5 separate regions of the Homo sapiens genome follow, and regions 1, 2, 3 and 5 are each linked to region 4. Evidence: promoter capture Hi-C in 16 types of primary human blood cells and fetal thymus (Javierre and others, 2016). All regions are on one chromosome and are shown on one strand. The core of a region is centred on a gene start or on the middle of the fragment in contact, and the rest is flanking DNA. Distances in the headings are between cores, read along the strand shown. Region 1 holds the start of UGCG (UDP-glucose ceramide glucosyltransferase). Region 2 overlaps SUSD1 (sushi domain containing 1). Region 3 holds the start of SUSD1 (sushi domain containing 1). Region 4 holds the start of SNX30 (sorting nexin family member 30). Region 5 overlaps SUSD1 (sushi domain containing 1).

Region 1 (4,367 bases), core at 1,218-3,717, 850 kb after region 4:
CATTTCCATGGGGCCAATATGTATCAAAGTTTAAAATGTGCACCACTTCTGGCCCAATAATTCCTCTTTCGGAAATATAAATGAGATCATTTCTCAAAGATGTATGCATATAAATTCATCACAGTGTTCTTTGTAATCTAGATAAATTGGAAACAACCTAAACATCCATCAGTAATAATAAATAAATCTTGGTACCTGGTAAACTAAAATATCATGCATCTATTACAAATGATGTAGAGATCATACAGATATTGACATGCAAAAAACGGTCAAGACATTTTACAGGACAGTTCCATGTGAACAGGGGCCTTGTATGTTTGTTCTTCACTCTTCCAGCAACTAGAACAGTGCCTTGCACAAAACGGCTTTTCAATAAACATTTATTAAACAGATGAACTTTAAAGCAGGTTACAGAACAATAATCATAATATAGTCCTTTTCTCTCTTCCCTCTTCCCCTCCCTCCTTCTCTCTCTCTCACACACACACACAGATTGGAAGGATAGTCACAAAAGGTTAACAAGGTAATGTAGTTTTGGTGTGTGCATATTTTAATTTTCTCCATCTCTCTCTATTGCATAAATTCCTTACACAGTAAGCATTTTTTATTTTTATGACGGTAAAAAGTAACAATTTTTTTAAAGAAAAAGAACTCACATATTTTAAATGAACTCCAGAATGTGCTGTGACTAAGCTCACCAACTCCAAAAACTAAAGTCAACAATATCCAAGTGGCATGTTTTCTTTCACTTTCAAAGAAATATCAGTATAACCTGTACCAGCATCATCTTTCTCAGTACCAGGAAATGCCACACTATACTAATAAAATACAGTGTTTCCAAAAGCAAAGGCACACTTTTTCCGCAGTAAAAAGGAAAAAAAAAAAACCAAAAAACTAAAAGTAACTAATTTCTTAAAGTCTCTTCCACTAACATACACTCTATTCTAGTTCATGGTAACGATTACTATATACAATTGCTCTTTTCTCCCCCCAGACTAAAAATCCAAGTGAATCGATATCAGTAATGTGCTCTATATAATTTTTTCATTTCTTTACAGAGGCAGATTTCACCTTAAACAGTGGATATACCAAACTAGCCACATAACCCATGTCTCTATTCACGCCATCACCCAGTTCTATTTTACTTACACGCTTCGTCACAATCTCATAACCTTATTTAGATTTTATCTGCTCCTTCCTTCTAGAATGTAAGACTCATGAGGACAGGAATTCTGTCCTGCTCACCACCATGTCCCCTGGCCAATAACAGTGAATGGTATCTAGTAGGCCTCAAGAAGTATTTGTTAAACAAAAATGAAAAGATGTGGCCGGCACGGGGAGAGTACAAATCTACATAAAACAATAAAACGAGGAACTGAAAAAAGGAAAGAAAACCACGCTGAGATGTACAAGCTGACAGGACTCAAAGCTATCATGCCAGCTCGGAGGTTTGGTGGACATTTTTCAGGGTGGACAGGTGCTTCACACCTATCTAAGCGCATAGAGCCCTTCCAGGAAGAAGAAAATCCACAGAGAGGTGTCCAGATAGCTGTGAGCAGCTCCCAGAAAAGTGGACACAATCACCACCCTAACAGAAACGTGGCCCAGGTCGGGAGAAAAAAACAATACACCATACATCTCGGCCCAGATGAAAAATTACACGAATCCCCAGCACAATCAAACCAAGCCACCACCTTCAGCCTGACACGTAAGAGCAGTCTCCTTTAGCCTGGCTGGGCAGTCGCCTGCAACCCAGCAAACCCTTCCCACGCCCAACACTTTTCCCTCGCAAAGACCACCGCCACCGCCGGTCCGAGGGGCGAGGGAACGGGGGGAACAGCCTGACGATCAGCTTTCTCCACCCCCGCCCGAGCCCAGTCCCCTTCAAAGCGCAAACGTTTCCCATTCTCGCCTGTCTCCGAGGCCCGGACCCCTGCCCCGAGCCCCTCCTGCGGTCCCTCACTCACGTGTAGATGATAGCCATGAAATGCATCAGCCACAGCACCAAGAAGAGGACGAACCCGAAGACGGCCATTCCCTCCAAGGCCAGGTCCAGCAGCGCCATCCCCCGGCCCGCCGGACCGGCCCGGCCCGCTGCGGCCGCCAACACGGACAACGCTCCCGCAGGAGGAGGACAGGGTGGGCGCCCGGTGCGGGGGCGCGGGAGGCGAGAGGAAGGTGGGGAGAGGAAAGGGCGGAGGGGGGTGGGGACGGAAGGGGCGGGCAGGGCCTGCGCGCCCCCGCCCGCGCGCTCTCGCCTGCGCGCTGTCTTCGGCGCGCTCGCGGGCGGCTGCGGGTGCTGCGGTCTCCCGGCTCTGGTCGGGGCGACCGCGGTCCCGCGCTCCGGTTCGCCTCTCCCGAGCCTCGCGGCCGCCCACCAGACCCTGCGCGCGGGCACCTCCGCCGCCTCTCCGTCTCGCCGCCGGGCTCCCGGCCGAGCAGCTCCACCGCCGCAGCTCCGCGCACTAATCAAAACCGGCGGCTCGCGCCCCACTCCTCGGCGCGTCCCGCCCCCGGAACCGCGGCGCCCGCCTCTCCCAGGGGCGGTGCCCCCATCGGTCCACGCCCACCCTGTCGCCCGCGCGCCCGCTGCGGCGCCGGCGAGAGCGCGCCGGGGAGATCGTGTCCTGCTGCCCGCAGGACGCAGGCCGGGCTTCCTCCGGCTCCTCGCTCCCGCTGCCGCCCACCTAGGCGGAAAGCGCTGCAGCCCTGGGCCGGGCTCCCTCGGTGTCGGTGGCAGCTCGGGACCCTGTGCCTGGCTGGAGGCTGCTCTCTCTCCGTCTGGCCCTGCTGTTCCTGGGTGCCCCAGAAAAAGACACGGGTTCCGGGCAGCTGCCGGAGCTTGTCTAGAAATCCAACTTCCAACGCCGCGTCTGCAGCCTCCCCGCCGGGCACTGCTACTGCTCGGAGCAGCCAGGCCCTCCAGGCCACGTTCCTGGGCGCAAGGGATGCCCATTGCCTTCCCTCTTACTGCTTTTAATGCTGTGGGATCTTGGATCAAAAGGGACCGGAGAGTAAAATAATCTCCATGCGCCTCACAGATCTCTAAGCGCCTTAGCGACCGTGTGTATTATAAAAAGAAATTCTCAAATTCAGAATTAAAGAATCAGTTGATATTGAAATTCCCTAAGACTGCCATCCAATACGGTAGCCGCATGTGGCTAAGTGAGGGTTGGAAAGGCAGCTTGCCACTCTGTGGAGTAAACAGTACACCAGATGTGGAAGACCATCTCGTTAGTAAATTTTATATTGATTGCATGTTGAAAAGGTAATATTTTGGACATACTACATTAAATTAGGTAAATTATTAAGTTAATTTCTCTTTTTAAATACTTTGGCTAGCTACTAGAAAATTTTAATTGTACGTGTGGACAGCACAGCTCTAAAATGGGAAGAAATGTCACTTTGGGTAGTAAGGTAACTAAGTATTTGTCCTAATTTTAAGTCATCCCAAGAAGATGCTAGTACTCAATGTTTGTGTTTCTTCAATCTAGATGAGTTTATACTATTTCTGCATTGTTTTATGTTTATTGTTGCAAGTGATTTCCTTTTAAATAATCCATGACCTCCCTTGAGATATTTCAGAATTGAATTCAATTTTGAAAAGAAGTTGTGGCTGGGCGCGGTGGCTCACACCTGTAGTCCCAGCACTTTGGGAGGCGGAGGCAGGTGGAGCATGAGGTCAGGAGTTCAAGACCGGCCTGGCCTAGATGGTGAAACCCCGTCTCTACTAAAAATACAAAGAATTAGCCGGGCGTGGTGGCAGGCGCCTGTAATCCCAGCTACTCCGGAGGCTGAGGCAGAGAATTGCTTAAACCTGGAGGGGCGGAGGTTGCAGTGAGCCGAGATCGCGCCACTGCACTCCAGCCTGGGCGACAGAGCGAGACTCTGTCTCGAAAAAAAATAGATGAATTTAAAAAAAAGAAAAGAAGTTGTTTATTATTGCTGTTTATGGTAGTTAATAGTCACTGAATGATCTACCTCAATCTGCAATTAAATGACAAACTACAACTAGAAGAGTTAATGTCCGAACCATTCCTCGATTAACATCCTTGGCTCCACTGGTGCAGAATCAGTGGGAAAGAACAATGCTTCAAAATCAAATTCCCACTGTTGAGAGTTACTGGCTGATAAAAATAGCAGGATGGAGGGCCAGGCGCAGTGGCTCATGCCTGTAATCCCAGCAGTTTGGGAGACTCAGGTAGGAGGATTGCTTGAGGCCAGGAGTTTGAGACCAGCCTGGGCAACATGATGAAACCCTGTCTCTACAAAAAAAAAAAAAAAAAAAAATTAGCCAGGCATGGTTATGGCACCTATAGTCCCAGCTACCGGGAAGGCTGAGGTGGTAGGATCACCTGATCCTGGGA
Region 2 (4,264 bases), core at 29-2,528, 700 kb after region 4:
TGAAGCTTTTTAAATTTTCTCAACAGGGCAGGATCTGCCCTTCTTTGGCTATTCTGCTATATTTTAGAGCAATGGGTGTGCACTTGTTTTGTCTGTCTTCTACTACTAGATTTTACACCCTTGAAGGGCATTTGAAGAGGAGGAACAGAGCCTGGCATGCATTAGGTGTTCAATCAGAATGCACTGAATTGGGCTGAATGATTACTGAGGAAGCAGCAGTTAGTTTTATGGGAAATGAAGCATAGGAGGTGCAATACTTATCAAATAAGCCAGAGAAGACTTACATCAGGATATAAACCTAGTGTGTATGTATACATATGTATTTACTGTATATGTACATATATGTGTATATATGTACATATATACATGCACACAATCATTTTAAACCTTTATAGTTGTGATGGGAAGAATTCTAATATGGTTCCCAAATTCCTTGTCTTTGGTATACATCTACCTTCTCTCAGTTATTCATTCAAAGACTGTTCTAGGTATTGCTGTGAAGGGATTTTGGAGATGTACTTAAGCTCCCGAATAGGGAGATTATCCAGATAGGCTTGACCTAATCACAGGAGCCCTTTAAATCTGGATCTAGAGGTCAGAGATAGGGGAAGTTGGAGCTTCAAAGAATGAGATGGATTTGACATAGGGAAATTCTCCTGCAGCTTGAAGATGGAGGGGTCCACATGGCAAGGAGTGCAGCTTAACAGAAGGAGCTGAGCAAGGCCTGGCTGCAGCCAGTAAGAAAATGGGGACCCTAGTCCTATAACTGCAAGTGTCTTAGTCTGTTTTGTGTTGCTATAACAGAATACTGGAGGCTGGGTAACTTATTAAGAAAAGAGGTTTATTTAGCTCATGAGTCTGTAGGCTGGGAAGTTCAAGAGCATAGTACTGCATCTGGCCTGCTTCTGGTGAGGGCTACATGCTCACCAGAACAATGGTAGAGAAGTGGAAAAGCCAGCAGGTATATACAAAGAGATCATGTGATGACACAGGAAGCAAGAAAGAGTCTAGGAAGTTGACTCATTTTTATAACAACTAGCTCCCTGGTAATACAGCCCCTCCAGAGCAAGAACTCACTCACCTCTGAGAGAGGGCATTAATCTGTTCATGAGGGCTCCAACCCCATGACCCAAATAGTTCCCACTAGGTCCCAACTCCTGACACCACCACATTGAGGATTAAATTTCAAGTGAGTTTCAGAGGATATAAACTCAAACCATAGCAGCAAGGAACTGAATGTAGCCAATAACCTGAATGAGCTTGGAAGCAGCTTCTTCTCCAGAGCCTCCAGAAAGAAGTTCAGTCCACCTGAGACCTTGATTCTAGCCTCGTAAGGCCCTAATACGGTTTTCTTCTATGTACCCACCCAAATCTCATGTCGAATTGTAATCCCCATGTATTGAAGGAGGGGCCTGGTGGGAGATGACTGAATCATGGGAATGAATTACCCCCTTGCTGTTCTCGTGATAGAGTTCTCATGAGATTTGGTTGTTTGAACGTGTGTAGCACTTCCTCCTTTACTCTCTCTCTCTCCTGCTCTGGCCATGTGAAGACTGTGCCTGCTTCCCCTTCACCTTCTGCCTTGATGGTACATTTCTTGGGGCCTCCCTAGCCTTGCCTCCTGTACACCCTGTGGAACTGTGAGTCAATTAAACCTCTTTTCTTTTAAATTACCCAGTCTCAGGTAGTTCTTTATAGCAGTGTGAGAAGGGACTAATACAGGCCCTGAGCAGAGAACCAGCCACAATGTGCCTGAACTTACCACCCACAGAATTCTGAGCTCATAAATGGGTTAAAGCTACCTAAGTTTGTGGTGATTTGTTAAACTGCAATAAAAATGGAATATAACAGTGTTGCTAATGTATCAAGCATTAATCTTTAAATTAATCTTTAAACTTATCTTTAAATTAGTTTTCCACTTTGATTTCCTTTGCCATCTTTGGCTCTGAATGGAATTCAAGTGAGAAGACCCTAGAATAGCAAAGAGAAATTTAACACAGTAAATAGAAGTCACTGTGCTAATTATTATTTTTATTATTATTTACCATTTGGAGAACAGAATTGGTGCTTTCAGGAAGTGACCATGCCCGTGTATATTCATGAAAAAATGTCCACACCCATGGAGCGTCCTCAAGCTGTCACAAAGTCTGAGAGTAGAAATAGGGCCTTTCTAACTTCCTCTTCAGCATGTGATATTTCTATCAGGGAAGGGGTTAAAGATAAGTCCAGCAAGGCCCCATCACTCCTCCTGAGCACTAGCTCTCTTGAGGGAGCCACCATAAAGAGAATGGTGAAGTTTAGTCTTAATGGACTTACTTTCTCCAAGATTGAGTAACTGATGTGGGATATAACACATGAGTGATTCACTTGGGTTTGTAAAAAAATATTCTACAAGTGATTCAGAAGAAAAATAAACATGGTTCTCTGGCATGAGACCATGGAAAGGTAGGGTAACCAAAGGATGGTGAGGCTATAAAAAATACAATTCAAATTTGCCAGTTGTAAATTTTCTTATTAAGGAATTAATGAGGAAAGTCTCTAAAGAAGCTTGTGTGGCAACACTTGTGAGCACTCTTGATTAGATTGACTCAGATTTTTAGAGTATATATGCAAAGTAGACAAAAAGACATATAACCAGGAACTGATCTACCAGCAAGAATCATTCCTGGAGCCAAACCCAAATTGTGCTATGCAGAATAAATAAAGATCATTTTCCAATACTATGTCTAGAGTAAGGAATAGTTGTGCCCAGGTAGATCCTGCTGGTGGATGGTCAAGTGAAAGTCAGCTTCCTTAACTCCTACTTAGCTTTTGTCCTCTTCGTTTGTGAGGGGATAGTTAGAAGAAAGAAAAGAGCTTGCTACCCTACATAGGTTCAAGTCTTCCAACATGGATGTAGCGTATTCTGGCAGGTTCATACAATTTTCACATGAGATGGATAAACCATTGCAAATGATCTTCAATAAACCTTGAAGAAAATGGAGAGATGTAAGAGGACTAGAGATGAGCAAAGAACAAGGAACTTTGTACAAAGGAAGAACCACCAGAAGTGTAGATGATGGTAACTTGAAGTCAAGGCAAAGCAAGGTCTTCAAGTGATGGCTTGTGTATCCCTGGTAGAAAAAACAGCAGTTCCCGGGAGTCAGGAGCTTTAAGAGCAGATTAGGTCAGATTGCTTTCCATTTCTTCTTGCACAGAGTCAGTAATTGGTCAGGGAAATATGGCACGCATAATAACAATAATGTCCTTGTGGACAATGTGGGGACATGAGAGCTGTATGTGGGCTTAGAAACAAGCTGAATGGCTATGCACAGTTGATATCAACTCATTAACAATTATTGATGAGTTGAAATCAAACCCAAGAATATGCATGATATGGATTTCTGTCCACAGTCATCTTCAGTTCAACATATTCATCAATCAGTGATTAAAATATACAGAGGGTTAAAGTGTAGAGGAAAAAATACACAGAAAAAAACTTGATGTCAGAAGTTGGAAGGAATACTGGGTAGATCGGATGAAATGCCAGTGCAGTAAAGTACCAGCTCCCCCGTTCATCTCCAGAATTGTATTTTCTCTTAAAAACAAAACAAAACAAAACAAATCTAGTTAATTAGTCCACCAAGATGGCATTTAAAAAAATGTTTCTGAGTCATGCACAAAGATGGCATCTTAATGCCTTAATTTGCATTTTTATTACTTGTAAGAGAGCATTTGCTCAAAGTTTTATTGATCATCTGTAATCATGTTTTTCATGTGATTTACCTTTTCGTAGAATTTTCTCATTTCGCTATTGAGGTATGTCTTTATTAATCTGTAACACTCTCTGTATGTTAACTTCTTGCCCATTATTCTAGATATTTTATCCAGCTTGCCATTTGCCTTTTAATCTTGCTTATGGTAGTTTTTGGTATAAGAAGTGCATGCTTTTTAAAGTGGTTAAATCTCTCATTCTCTTAAGGTTTCTGTGTTAACGAATATGCTTAGAAATTTCTTACCCCCTTTAATATTAGGTAAATATTCACTAACATTTCCTAATCCTTTTAGGTTTCAATTTAAGTCTGTAATCCATCTGGATTTTATTTTGATATATGGTGTAAGCTCTAGTGATCAAAATTATTTGATTCTAAATGGTTAGCCAATTTTCTCAGCACTGGTTATGAAAAATTTATCATTTCCCCAATGATCTGAAACAGTATCAAAACAACAAAAACAATAATAATTAACAATAGCTAACATTTGCTTATTGCTTATTCTGTGCCAG
Region 3 (3,931 bases), core at 795-3,294, 580 kb after region 4:
TGGCTCACTCCTGTAATCCCAGCACTTTGGGAGACCAAGGTGGGAGGATTGCTTGAGCCAAGGAGTTGGAGACCAGCCTGGGCAACATAGCCAGATCTTGTCTCTACAAAAAAAATTTTTTAAATGAGCCAGGCATGATGCTGCGCCCCTGTAGTCCCAGCTACTGGGAGGTTGAGGCTAGTGGACTACCTGAGCCCAAGAGGTTGAGGCTGTGGTGAGCTGTGCACTCCAGCTTGGGCAACAGAACAAGACCTTGTCTCCCCAAGAGGAAAAAAGAGCCTAGGAAGATGAGCTTTTTCTTTGTTTGTTTTTGTTTGTTTGTTTTTTTAAGAGAGGGGGTCTCACTGTATTGCCCACATGGGCCTTGAATTCCTGGACTCAAGCAATTCTCCTGCCCTTCAGCCTCTTTAGTAGCTGGGACTACAGGCATGCCACACTTCACCCAGCTTGAAGTTGATTTTTAACTACTTGTTAAGACTCCACAACTTTAGCCCTTATATGGGTGTGTTTGAAAGTGGTGAGATTTACGGCAGGCTCATGGCAGAGAGTAAACAAGTGAGGATATGGGGTGAAGTAGTGGGGTGCCTGCTCTCGGCTGCGCTCCCACAGACATCACAAGCTCAAAGCCTTCAAACCGGATCTTATTTATTTCCTTCTCCCCGACTAGTCATAAAACCTAGTGGATTCCACTCTTACACACTGCCCTCTTCACACTCATTTGTCAATGCCCAGCTGCAGGACACATCTATCTCTATCTCTATCTGTCTGTCTGTCTGTCTGTCTGTCTATCTATCTATCTATCTATCTATCTATCTATCTATCTATCTATCTATCTATCTGTCTATGGAGTCTCACTCTGTCGCCCAGTCCGGAGTGCAGTGGTGCGAGCTCGGCTCACTTCAACCTCCGCCTCCTGGGTTCAAGCAATTCTCTCGCCTCAGCTTTCCGAGTAGCTGGGATTACAGGTGCCTGCCACCGTGCCCACCTAATTTTTTTTTTTTCAGTAGAGACGGGGTTTCACCAAGTTGGCCAGGCTGGTATCGAGCTCCTGACCTCAAGTGATCCACCCGCCTCGACCTCCCAAAGTGTTGGGATTACAGGCGTGAGCCACCGCACCGGGCCAGGACATGTCTTCTATTGCCTGATTCCTGCAGCAACTCCGGGCTGGACTCTTTGCCTTCCACATCCCAACCCAACCCCAATCCCAATTCCACAGAACAGACAGAGATGTGTCAGTGATGAAGTCATTCACTGCTTGAAACTGTGACAGCTTCCCGGCGACCTCCATCACTTGGGTTAGGAGGGCTAACTTCCCTCTGCAGCTCAACGCCCCTCTCCAACCCTCTGCTCTCACTCTAGGTCCCCATTCCCCATTTCTACAACAAACTCCCGCTTAGATTCCTCCCCAACGTCCTTCTCATCCTTGGGTCTTGGTTTACTCCTTCCCTTGGGATGAGTACGGCTGTGATGGAGGTAGGGGCTGGCATCAGCGCGTCCCAAGCCGGGTGTCCTCAGAGCAGCGGGGACTGATGCCAGCCCCTCCCTCCATCACAGCCCTACTCTCTCTCACTCCCGGTGACCAGGTGTCACCTGGTCAAGTGTGTCGCCCCTGGGTGGCCTGGGTCTGCGTCTTCCGACCTCTCATCTGGGCCTTGCGCTGTGGTCACCTCATCCAGCTCCCTTTCACGTCCTGGAAGATTTCCGCCCCTTGCTCCCCTCACCCCTCTCCCCGGGGGTGCCTCCCTGAGCCCTCGAGTGGCTTGAATCCTCCGCAACATTTCCTCCCCAGCACTCTCCGGGGCTCTGCGTCCAGCTGTGTCATTATCCGATGAGTGTCTGTCCCCCTTTGCGAATGTGAGCGGCGAGAGGGCAGCAAGTGCGGAGCCAGAGACGGACGCGGAACGGGCGTGTCCTAAGCCCAGGCCCCGACAAGAGGAAGGACCCGCGCTCTGCGGCCTCCCGGGGACCCCGCAGCGCCCCCCGCTTCCCTCGGCGGCGCCGGAAGCCGCCGGCTGGTCCCCTCCCCGCGGCGCCTGTAGCCTTATCTCTGCACCCTGAGGGCCCCGGGAGGAGGCGCGGGCGCGCCGGGAGGGACCGGCGGCGGCATGGGCCGGGGGCCCTGGGATGCGGGCCCGTCTCGCCGCCTGCTGCCGCTGTTGCTGCTGCTCGGCCTGGCCCGCGGCGCCGCGGGAGCGCCGGGCCCCGACGGTGAGTGCGGGCTGGGACGGGCACGGGCGGCCGGCGGGGCCCCCGGCTGGGCCTCGAGGACTCTGGGCGCACGGACGCTTCCCCGCCCCTGGGCCGGGCCGGCGCGGTGCCGAGGCGTGGGGCGCAGGTGGGGCCCGCGCCGGCCGTTGGAGATCGGCAAGGAGGAGCTCAGAGAAGCGGGGGGCTCCCCGCCGGGCTTCCCTGCCCCCGCCCGACCCCGCGACGCCGGGGGACGCCGGTTTTAAGGCGGCCTGGCCGGGCCCCCAGGGACCTCCACTGCCCAGGAGGCGGGGTGGGGGCTGGGCGCGAGCGCGGACCCGGGCAGGGCGGCGCCCGGGGAAGGGCGGGGAGGCCAGGGCGTTCTGCGGCGCTGTCACGCTTCCGGCTCTGCGGTGGCTTTTGCATGACACATTTTTGACCCGAAGCAATTTTCTTACCACTTTTAATTTTTTCACGTTGTTAGAGAGCCGGATGCTAAATATGGTGAGAAAGACGCGTAAGGAAGAGTACAGGAGTGAAGCCATTAATTCACTCATTCATTCAACAGATGGCCCTTGAACAGCTTCCCTGTGCGCGATGAGGGCGGGCAGTGCGGGCCCTCGTGGAGCTCATTGTCTGGAGGATTTAGACCAGCAAATGTTCTATTTCCAAGCAATCGAGGGAGTTGTTTTTCCTCCTCTGCAAAATGCAGTGTTGAGCTGAGTAGGAATTACACAGAGGATTCAGACACGCAGGGGAGGTGACATTCATCCACATAACTGTAATACAAGGCAGAATGGCATGGGTGCCATGAGAAGGTGTGGGTGGTGAGGGCAGGGAAAGGGGAATCGGTGGTGACCCTTGAGCTGGGCCATCAATGATTGGTCATATTTGGATATGGGAAAATGTGAAAAAGGTATCCCAGCTCATAGCAGAAGGCACTGTCACCTCTCCACAAATGAGTGTAGAATGAATGAATTCCTTCAGAATTCAGGCCCGGGGGAGAAGGGAAGGAAGCACACGGAGGCACCAGAGGCAGAGGGCAGAGTGCCTTGATTGGCAGACCTAGGCCTTTGGACTTAGCTGTGCCTGGAAGCCACTGGAAGCCGTCTCAGGGAGTGACAAGAAAAGTGGGTCTAGCCAGTTCTAGGCGCTTCGGGAGCCACAGGTTACAGTGCAGACATGGCCAAATCCAAGCACCACACCACACACAACCAGTCCCGAAAATGGCACAGAAACGGCATCATGAAACCCGGATCACAAAGATACGAATCTTTTAAAGGGGTGGACCCCAAGTTCCTGACAAACATGCGGTTTGCCAAGAAGCACAATAAGAGGGGCCTAAAGAAGATGCAGGGCGACAGTGCCAAGGCCATGAGTGCACGTGCTGAGGCCTTGCCCTCATAAACCCCAAGGAGGTTAAGCCCAAGATTCCAAAGGGTGTCAGCTCTTGCCTACGTTGCCCACCTCAAGCTTGGGAAACGTGCTCGTGCCCGCATTGCCAAGGGGCTCAGGCTGTGCCAGCCAAAGACCAAGGTCAAGGATCAAACCAAGGCTCAGGCTGCAGCTCCAGCTTCAGTTCCAGCTCAGACTCCCGAAGGAGCTCAGGCCCCTACAAAGCCTTCAGAGTAGAGATCTGTGTCTGCCAACGTGAGGACAGAAGGATTGTCCCCCTTGGACTGCCATCTGCATGGGGCTGATGTCCTCCTTTGCTATTTGTATAAGTAAACTTGAGGCGGGGGAA
Region 4 (4,354 bases), core at 473-2,972:
AGGTGCATGCCACCATGCTGTGTGCGTATGTGGAAACGGGGTCTCGATATGTTGCCCAGGCTGGTCTCAAACTTTTGGTTCAGAGCAATCATCCCACTTCAGCCTCCCAAAGTGCTGGTATTACAGGTGTGAGCCACTGCACCTGGCCTCCATTAGCTTTTTTAATTTTCCTGTTCCTAATGCTTTGGAACTTCACTCCCTGCTTTCACAAACCCTCTGCAGAAGGTACATCAAGTCGCACTCTCTAGTGATTTTAAGTGCTCAGTGACCTTCTGACTGCAAGGAGGGCAGGTTATATTTTCTCATACTCCTTTTTCACTGTACCACATGGTGTCCCCTCTAACGGGAGAAGAAAGTTAGGTCCCCTGCTCCCATTAATATTGGGACAAGGGGGAATTCATTTAGTATTTTACTAGGGAGAGAAAATCTTGATCACAAGACCTGAGAACAATTCTAATTTCTGCAGTTAGTGACTAAGTGACGGCAGGAGCGGGGATACAATCACTGCTCAAGTCTCCTTCACAGCTGAAATGGCCATGGGGGTAGGGAGGAGGTCGTCCCTTACCCCTGCCTGGACTCTGCTGTCTCTCCAAGCAGCAGGAGGGTTGTGCTGCTCTAAGAAAATCTGGAGCCTCCCTCCGTACAAAGAAGGTCAAAGGGCGAGCTTTCTTTCCATCAACCACAAAACCAGCCTCTGCCAAACCTAAACAGAGTGGTAGGCCGTCGGAGGTGAATGGAGCCCCAGACAGAAAACCACAACGAGGCTCTCCTCCCGCCGCCGGCTGGGGTCTGAGTCAGGTGACTCCTCAGGACAAACAGCAAACCTAAACAAAGATCACTCCCCACATGACTGACTAGGGGGAAGAAGACTCTCGCTGTAAGCCCAGGGCTGCCCGGTCCCAGCACGGAAAGCCAGGAACTCCTGCTTTCTGTGCAGTCTCGGAAACTGGAGGAGCTACAAGTTATGCAGCAGCTCAGCCTGCAGGGATGCACCTGGAGGAACTCGGAACCCCATCCGAGGACACAGGCGCCCTGCCCTGAACACACGCCTCCCGCTCCAACACGCAGGCTGGACCCCTCCCCACCAGCTGTCACCGGTGCTTGCGACCAGTCACAGGCAGCGAAGCCTGTCCCTCTGCGGCTGCGACCCCGCGGAGGCGGCAGAGGAGACGCTTCGCCGAGGGCTCCGGGGCCAGGACACGCCCGTCCCCCGGGAAGGGGCGGCAGGGTGGGCGCGGCCCCAGGCCCACGAAGGCTCCGGATCCATCATCCCCCCCACGGGGAGCGAAATAAGCCTCCCACTCCCCGGCCCCAGGCGCCCCACCTTGTCACCGAAGCTGCGGGCCATCAGCAGGTCCGGGCTGGGCGTGCTGTCACCACCCACGGCCTCCTCGCTGCTGGAGCCGGCCAGCGGGTGCGGCATGTCGCGCAGGGAGTGGGGCCCCGTGGACGGCAGGGCCTTGGGGGGCCCGCCCGCCATGGCGCGCACCGCTCGGGACGCGCCGCCGCCGCTTCCTCCTGCTGCCCGCCGCGGCGAGCTCCCCGAGCACCCCGGGCCGAGCCCCGCTCGGCCGCCGCTTAACCCGAGGCCTTGCACCGGCCGTGCTGGGGGCCGCCGCCACCCGCCGGCTGGTCTCTGCCGGCGCTCAGACGCTCCGCTCCGCGCCGCGCGCCCCCGCTCCGCGCCCGAGCCCGCCGCGGGTCCGCTGGCAGCACGGCCGCGGCGCCCAGCCCACACAGCCACACCGCCCACCCGCTCCGGCCCCGCCCCCGAGGCGCCGCGGCCGCCCGGGAGGGGGCGGGGAGGGCGGGGAAGGGGCACGTGGGGAAGGAAGGACGGAGGGAGGGAGGGAGGAGGCGCGGCCCCGCCCCCGCCCGGCAGGAAGTGCGCCCTGGGCCTCTGCGGCTGTCCTCCCAGTGTCCAACGTTGCCTCGCGGAGGCCGCCGTGCGGAGCAAATGTCTAACGGAAATCAGAGGTGGAAAAGAGGTTGGAGGAGCCTGTTCCGTTCCACCCGCGTTTACTGATGCGCCCACCAGCAGCCACGCTTGGGGCTGGGGGCTTTGAGGACACGCACGTGAGTCAGGGTCTTCTGGCCTCTAAGGCACGCGCAGGAAGAACCCTAGATAGACGGAATTACGACCCATATCGGAAGAATAGCATAAAGGGCGACAAGGCTCAAATGAGCTAGAGGACATCGGGTGGGGAACCTGGAAGGGACTTCAAAGAGGCGGTGTGGGGAGTCTTCAGGCTCACTCTGAGGTCCCCATTGTGGCTTGCTTCTGCAGCTGAGCTGGATTTGTGTAAAGTCAAACCTCAGAACAGCGAGCATGAGTAGAGAGTCTCAAATGATATGCGACTCTTCAACTCACACTTTGGCCGAAGAGACTTTTGAAAGAACCATGAGGTTCAAGTTATTCTTCATGCATTTGTGCTTCCTTTCCAGGCCTTGGGCTGAGCTGATTCTCAGCTTTATTTGCTGGCGTGGTGCAAATAGTCAAGGTGTTACTTCCAGCCCTTTGGGGTGTAGGTTCACCTCCTTTTTCCACCTTACCTGTCCCTAGATCTTCTGTTTCCAAGGCCAAGTCTTTAAAGGGTTTTCAGTCCCTCTAGCAAAGTAATGGGTAGGGAGGCTCATCGTGAGGGACCACATTTTCCCTACCCATTCCAAACTCAAAGGTTTGCCTAGCCTTACCTGCTAAAAGGTGATGACAGATGTTGACTCTGGGATTCACTAAGGCCTCTACCACAGTTTTCTCTAGAAACAAATAGAAGAGAATGCAGAGGGTTGAAATCTACCCAAAATATCAGTCAGAGACTCTGAGCTTCAAAGACCTTCCCCTATTTCCCCCAATGTAATTTATATAGGGTTGGACCCTTAGTCCTCAAGCTATCATCTTTATCTCCTCCACATAAGCCTGCCTTGGCTGGGAAAAGTAGCATTCAAAGGGCACTGGGAACAATTTTAAATGCTGCATCTAAGGAATGCCAAGTTCTGGTCCTCTTGGAGTTGGATTAAAATTGTTAACACTTTCACATTCAAGGGCTGCTTACAACTACTACAGACCCTATTATCTGTTCTTCTGAATTAGCATGAAAATGAATAGCACAATATAACTAGAAATGAGTATTTCTAGAAATGAGTATATACATCTATAGATGTATAACATCGGTTTTTCTTATTGAATGGTGCTACTTATTTTAACAACCAGGCTGCCTTAAATATAATGGACATCCGTATGGATTAAGACTCTATACAAGCTTTCTCTTTAGTACACCAGGGGAAAGTGAAAAAAGAACCACATTTGAATTCGGCTTTGTCACTACAAGTGGGTGACCATGAGCAAGTTACTAACCTCAGTGAACCTGTTCCTAACCTAAAAAGGAGGAGAATGGAGAGCAGGTAATAATACCTTATGAGATGGTTGTGAGAGTTATATAGCATTCTTTATGTCATAGTCCTAGCAAAGTGCTGGCATAAAATAGGTGCTCCCTAAATGTTAATTACCTACCTTCCTTTCCCTTTCTGTCAGATTTTCTCTACTATTCTTATGAAATAATAAAGAGTTTTTGTAATTAAATATGCTTTACTATTCTGAGTAGGGTCTGGTTGAATATACATATATATACACACACATACACACCAGGTAGGGTGCCTCACACCTGTAATCCCAGCACTTTGGGAGGCCAAGGTGGGAGGATCACTTGAGCCCATAAGTTCAAGACCAGCTTGGGCAACATAGTGAGAGCCCCATCTCTATAAAAAATGTAAAAATTAGTCCGGCATGGTGGCACATACCTGTAGTCCCAGCTACCCAAGAGGCTGAGGTGGAAGGATTGCTTGAGCCTGGGAGGTTGAGGGTGCAATGAGCTGAGATTGCACCACTGTACTTCAGCCTGGGCAACAGAAGGAGACCTTGTCTCAAAATAAAAAAAAATATATATATATATACATATATATGTGTGTGTACATATATATGTGTGTATATGTGTGTGTGTGTGTGTGTGTGTGTATTGACCTCCAAAGTCCTCCATTTGCTCAGTTTAGATTGGAGTACCACTTTTCTATGCTCCCACCAAAAAAAGGACCCAGACCCAGAGTTCCTAAAAGGCCATATGAAATAGTTGATTACAGTTTATTTATTTATTTTCCAGTTTCCTGGTTGGTCGATAGCAGCTGGCCACAATATCCAGTGGGTAGTCATCAAAACTAAAGAAAGTGAATTTGTATGGAAAGTATTTTGGTAGAAAGTTTCCACGATGAAATTTAGCCCAGCCCTGCCCATTCATATTCACCATTTCCTGTGGTATTTCAGTGTTCCTTGTGGTGGGAAATTGTCACTGAAATAATATAA
Region 5 (3,906 bases), core at 12-2,511, 660 kb after region 4:
ACCCACCCAGTCTCAGGCCGAAAAGCAGAGGAAAGGGCGGTGACAGACACTGGGTGCTTACCTCTTGGAGACCGGAGATACCCAGAGTGCTCCTTGTACCTGTGCACAGGCGGGTCCCAGAGAGCAAGTCTGCCTTTTGTTTGGGTGGCAACCTGTAATATATGAACTTATTACTTGGAAATGTGACTCAAGGAATGGCAGTCTCCTACCAATTAGATTACATATTTACTGTTCCTTCCTTGAGGATTAACATATAGGGAATAGGGAGAAGCCAAAATTGCCTTTTCCCTTATGGAATTGGAAAGACAGGTAAATAGCAACCTTTAATACACTCAAGCAAGGTCACTGATCTCTGTAATTATCTTGAACAGGAAAGGTCCATTATAGTTCTAGGAGTCTATGTTAGGAAAGCAATTTAAATTACTTTTAGGTTCCTTCAAATTCATTTGTTTTGAAGGAAAAATTTGTCCAAATTTCTTGGTTAATTTACCATCACTATTTTATTTATTGATCAAATTTTGTGTTCTCATGGACATAGATAGTTTATTCATATACTGAGAGCATGACTTCTTTGATTATTATTTATGTTGCCTTTCTTCTGTTTTATGGTTTCTTTCAATTTTGTTTACGATGTTTTTGACATATAAAAGTTTTAGATTGCTATACAGTCAAATCTATTGATCTTTTCCATTGTGATTCATTACATTGTTATTAAATGTAGAATTTTTTAAAACAAAAGAGTATTTATATTCTGTCTTATTTCTAGGAAAGACTTTAAGTGACCTGCATGGGTATATAAAATAAACGATAATAGGTTAGACGTCTAGGCTAAAGAAGAAAGAAAACAAAAACAGAGACATAAAAAATATAGGAATAAGGTTAAGAATAATTCATGCCCTTATAACCTATTTACTTGTTCATTAGTGCCTCTAAAATTTAGGTTTGAGTTTTCCCATCCAGCCAGAAAGGGAACCATTGCATTGTCCATAATGTTACAACGAAGCAGTGTTTTTCAGAAGCACAATTCTTTTTCAACATTAAGAATCAGTTAGAAATTTCTGATTCCAGGGGGTCTCATAAATAGGACAGTGTCTGAGCAGCATTTTATGAGGATTTTATAAGGCTATTTTTTTGTATTGCCCCTGAACACAGAAAAGCACAATTCAGTGTAGAGTGGCAGAAAAGATGCATTAGAAATGCCTGCTGTTTGCTGATCTGGCTTGATTCAGGGGTAGGATTAGGTTATTTAGATTATTTGGAGGTATGACTGGAGTCCATTTCTTTCAAGCATTGTTTTCTAAATATTGTTTCCCTCAACTGAGATTTGATGAATGTTTGGTGTCACTGAGCTAGCAACTGTTTTCTCTTATAAGTACCCAGGGAGCAATTGTTCTGTGCCACCAATTGAATAACAAGGACTTGTGCTTGAATTGAACGCTGGCCTCCTCTGCTGGAAGGTTGAGCCTGGGGAGCTGAGCCAAGGGAATTGTTTGAATCTGCTCTGCCAATGAATGGGTGATTGAACTCTCAAAATTCCTCTCCTTGTAATATAGTCACAGGTGTTTAGCCTGAAAAATTTCACAGTTGTTCTGACCAGATACCAAATTTGTCTAAAGAAAAATTTCAATAAAATAACAGTAAAGCTCCCAGCTTTGAACCATATTATATCTTGTTGCCCTCTTTAAGATAAACTGCTCCCCAAATGTAAATCAAGGATAACTAAGATGATACCACTATTTATAGAGCAGTTATACAATAGTAACTTTGCTTTCAGGATAGTTGATTTATAGCCATTCTTTATGACAATATTTAGCTTGCAAAGCCAACTGTCTATATAGGCTACTTCTAATTAGAGATTTAAATACCGCTATTATTTATGTACAAAAGAATGTTTTTATTCAGTTCTTTTTAGCAGAAGATTGCATGCATTTAGATATTCCCAAAATAATGTTGGTAAGTTTTAAAAAATCCTACAAGGAGAAGGAACAGAGCACTCTTCCCAGGGAGTAAAGCCCTGGTAGAAAACCATTACTCTTAAGGTGGCTTTCTGCTGCAGGTTTTGAACAGCATGCATAATTTGAGATCTATGTGGACTTTATAAAACTTCCCCCATAATGGATTCCTGTTCACAGAATTAAAGTCCAAACAAAAGATAATTAAGACCATAAATCATTTAATGTTGTTTCTGATATTTTTCCACAGAGTGATAAATATTATAACAGTATTCTGTGGTTGAAGAGTTATGCCTGAAGTCTACCTTCTTTTCTTACAAACCATTAGCCTGAGAAACCCATACTTGTAGTTGGTCAAGCCAGAAATTGGCATATATTTTACATGGAATATACAATCATCTGAATGTGCCAAGTATGGAGAGAGTAGATGTTTGTTCTTTTAACAGATAAGTTAGTGACCTTGTAGATCCAGCTCAGTGGGACCATATCCATTACCTTTACTCATAAAGATGAATAAGTTGCTTAGAATTGGAGCCTTCAGCTAAATGGGTTCTAAGTGGCTCTGAAGGCAATAGATTCATCTCATTCTTTTTAGTACCTTCATTTTCTAATCATGCGTATAGACACAGACTCCAAAACTGTTCTCTCCTAGGCTAGAATCAGAGAAAGGGTCACATACTTTTTAGTCTAAAATATTCCTTAGTGCCATGCAAAGGAAAGCTAACTACAAGATATTTTAACAACTTTTATTTACTTATAATTTTTAAATTTGATATAATTTCAAATTTTTCTCTTTCTTGCACTTCTACCCCTTCCTGTAATATATCCCACTTGGTCATTGTGTATTGTCGTATGTGGCGTTAGATTCTGTTCACTAATATTTTCTTTAGTATTTTTGCACCAATATTTATAAGTAATGTTGGTCTATACTTTTCTCTATTTTTTTTGACACTCTTTATCAGGTTTAAGCATTGGTATTTTCCTTTCTTCATAAAAATAATTTGTAAAGTTTCCTTCATTATTTATGCCCTGGGACAATTCACATAGCATTTGGACTATCTGATTTTGGATGATTTGGTAGAATCCATCAAATTCTATGAAATGATCTGGGTATGGGGCTTTTCTATGGGGTTATTCCTTGATGACATTCTCAATTTTTTTCTATGGAAATTGGTCGGTTTAAGCTTTTTCTGTCTAATGGAGTCAATTTTGGCAAACCAGATTTTGCAAGGAATTACCTATTTCGTCTAAGTTTTAAAATTTATTTGTACACTGATCTGCAAAGTAGTTTCGTTTAACTTTTTGAATTTTCTTCTGTCTCAGTGATCATTTCTCCCTTTATCTTTATTTTCTGCCCCTTTTCTAGATTAAATTAGCTAAGTGGTTTGTTTATTTTATTAGTTTTTCTAAGATTTTGGTTTATTAATTGGATCTACTATTTTTTTTCTGTCTCACAATATCAGGGATTAACAAACTATGACCTGCAGAACAAATCTGGCCTGTCACCTGTTTTCATAAATAGTTTTACTGGAACAAAGGCAGAGTTGAATAGTTGTGACAGAACTGTCAGCCTGGAAAGCCTAAAATATTTACTTATCTGGCCCTTTATAGATAAAACTTCTTGATTCTCGCTCTATATCATTATTTCTGCTTTCTTTTCTTTTCTTTTCTTTTTTTTTTTTTTTTTTTTTGAGATGGAATCTTGCTCTGTCACCCAGGCTGGAGTGCAGTGGCGCGATCTCAGCTCGCTGCAACTTCCGCCTCCCGGGTTCGAGCGATTCTCCTGCTTCAGCCTCCCGAGTAGATGGGACTACAGGCATGTACCACCACGCCCAGCTAATTTTTGTATTTTTAGTAAAGACAGGGTTTCACCATGTTGGTCAGGCTGTTCCTGACCTCAGGTGATCCACCCTCCTTGGCCTCCCAAAGTGCTGGGATTACAGGTGTGAGCCAC

What was found. The method cuts DNA at HindIII sites, captures the fragments that hold promoters and counts their contacts. A CHiCAGO score of 5 or more calls a contact.
Region 1: the fragment with the promoter of UGCG here is called in contact with the fragment with the promoter of SNX30 in region 4 in 1 of 17 cell types (fetal thymus); the score reaches 6.0 in fetal thymus.
Region 2: a fragment that was not itself captured here is called in contact with the fragment with the promoter of SNX30 in region 4 in 1 of 17 cell types (naive B cells); the score reaches 5.3 in naive B cells.
Region 3: a contact is called between the fragment with the promoter of SUSD1 here and the fragment with the promoter of SNX30 in region 4, in 2 of 17 cell types (megakaryocytes and fetal thymus). The highest score is 6.3, in megakaryocytes.
Region 5: a fragment that was not itself captured here is called in contact with the fragment with the promoter of SNX30 in region 4 in 1 of 17 cell types (fetal thymus); the score reaches 5.4 in fetal thymus.

What each region holds. Positions count from the first base shown.
Region 1 is chr9:111,894,914-111,899,280 of GRCh38, reverse strand. UGCG (UDP-glucose ceramide glucosyltransferase) reads right to left here and starts at 2,467. Exons shown (of 9, transcript NM_003358.3): 1 at 1,968-2,467. The coding sequence starts at 2,065. RefSeq lists silencers at 2,023-2,112, 2,223-2,812 and an enhancer at 2,433-3,016. The HindIII fragment of the contact is 9,149 bases long and covers 1-4,367 here.
Region 2 is chr9:112,044,479-112,048,742 of GRCh38, reverse strand. All of the region lies in intron 15 of SUSD1 (sushi domain containing 1), which reads left to right. Among named protein-coding and RNA genes, the nearest start is that of LINC02977, 6.2 kb to the right of the region's middle. The HindIII fragment of the contact is 2,542 bases long and covers 8-2,549 here.
Region 3 is chr9:112,173,410-112,177,340 of GRCh38, reverse strand. It overlaps SUSD1 (sushi domain containing 1), which reads left to right and starts at 2,044. Exons shown (of 17, transcript NM_022486.5): 1 at 2,044-2,208. The coding sequence starts at 2,106. It also overlaps the pseudogene RPL29P20. RefSeq lists a silencer at 1,926-2,585. The HindIII fragment of the contact is 4,774 bases long and covers 1-3,662 here.
Region 4 is chr9:112,748,128-112,752,481 of GRCh38, reverse strand. It overlaps SNX30 (sorting nexin family member 30), which reads right to left and starts at 1,722. Exons shown (of 9, transcript NM_001012994.2): 1 at 1,325-1,722. The coding sequence starts at 1,480. SNX30-DT (SNX30 divergent transcript) reads left to right here and starts at 1,917. Exons shown (of 1, transcript NR_186503.1): 1 at 1,917-3,598. RefSeq lists enhancers at 34-953, 954-1,875 and a silencer at 1,145-1,964. The HindIII fragment of the contact is 6,629 bases long and covers 1-3,262 here.
Region 5 is chr9:112,089,549-112,093,454 of GRCh38, reverse strand. The region is part of intron 10 of SUSD1 (sushi domain containing 1); the gene reads left to right. Among named protein-coding and RNA genes, the nearest start is that of LINC02977, 51 kb to the right of the region's middle. RefSeq lists an enhancer at 1,086-1,732. The HindIII fragment of the contact is 3,755 bases long and covers 1-3,138 here.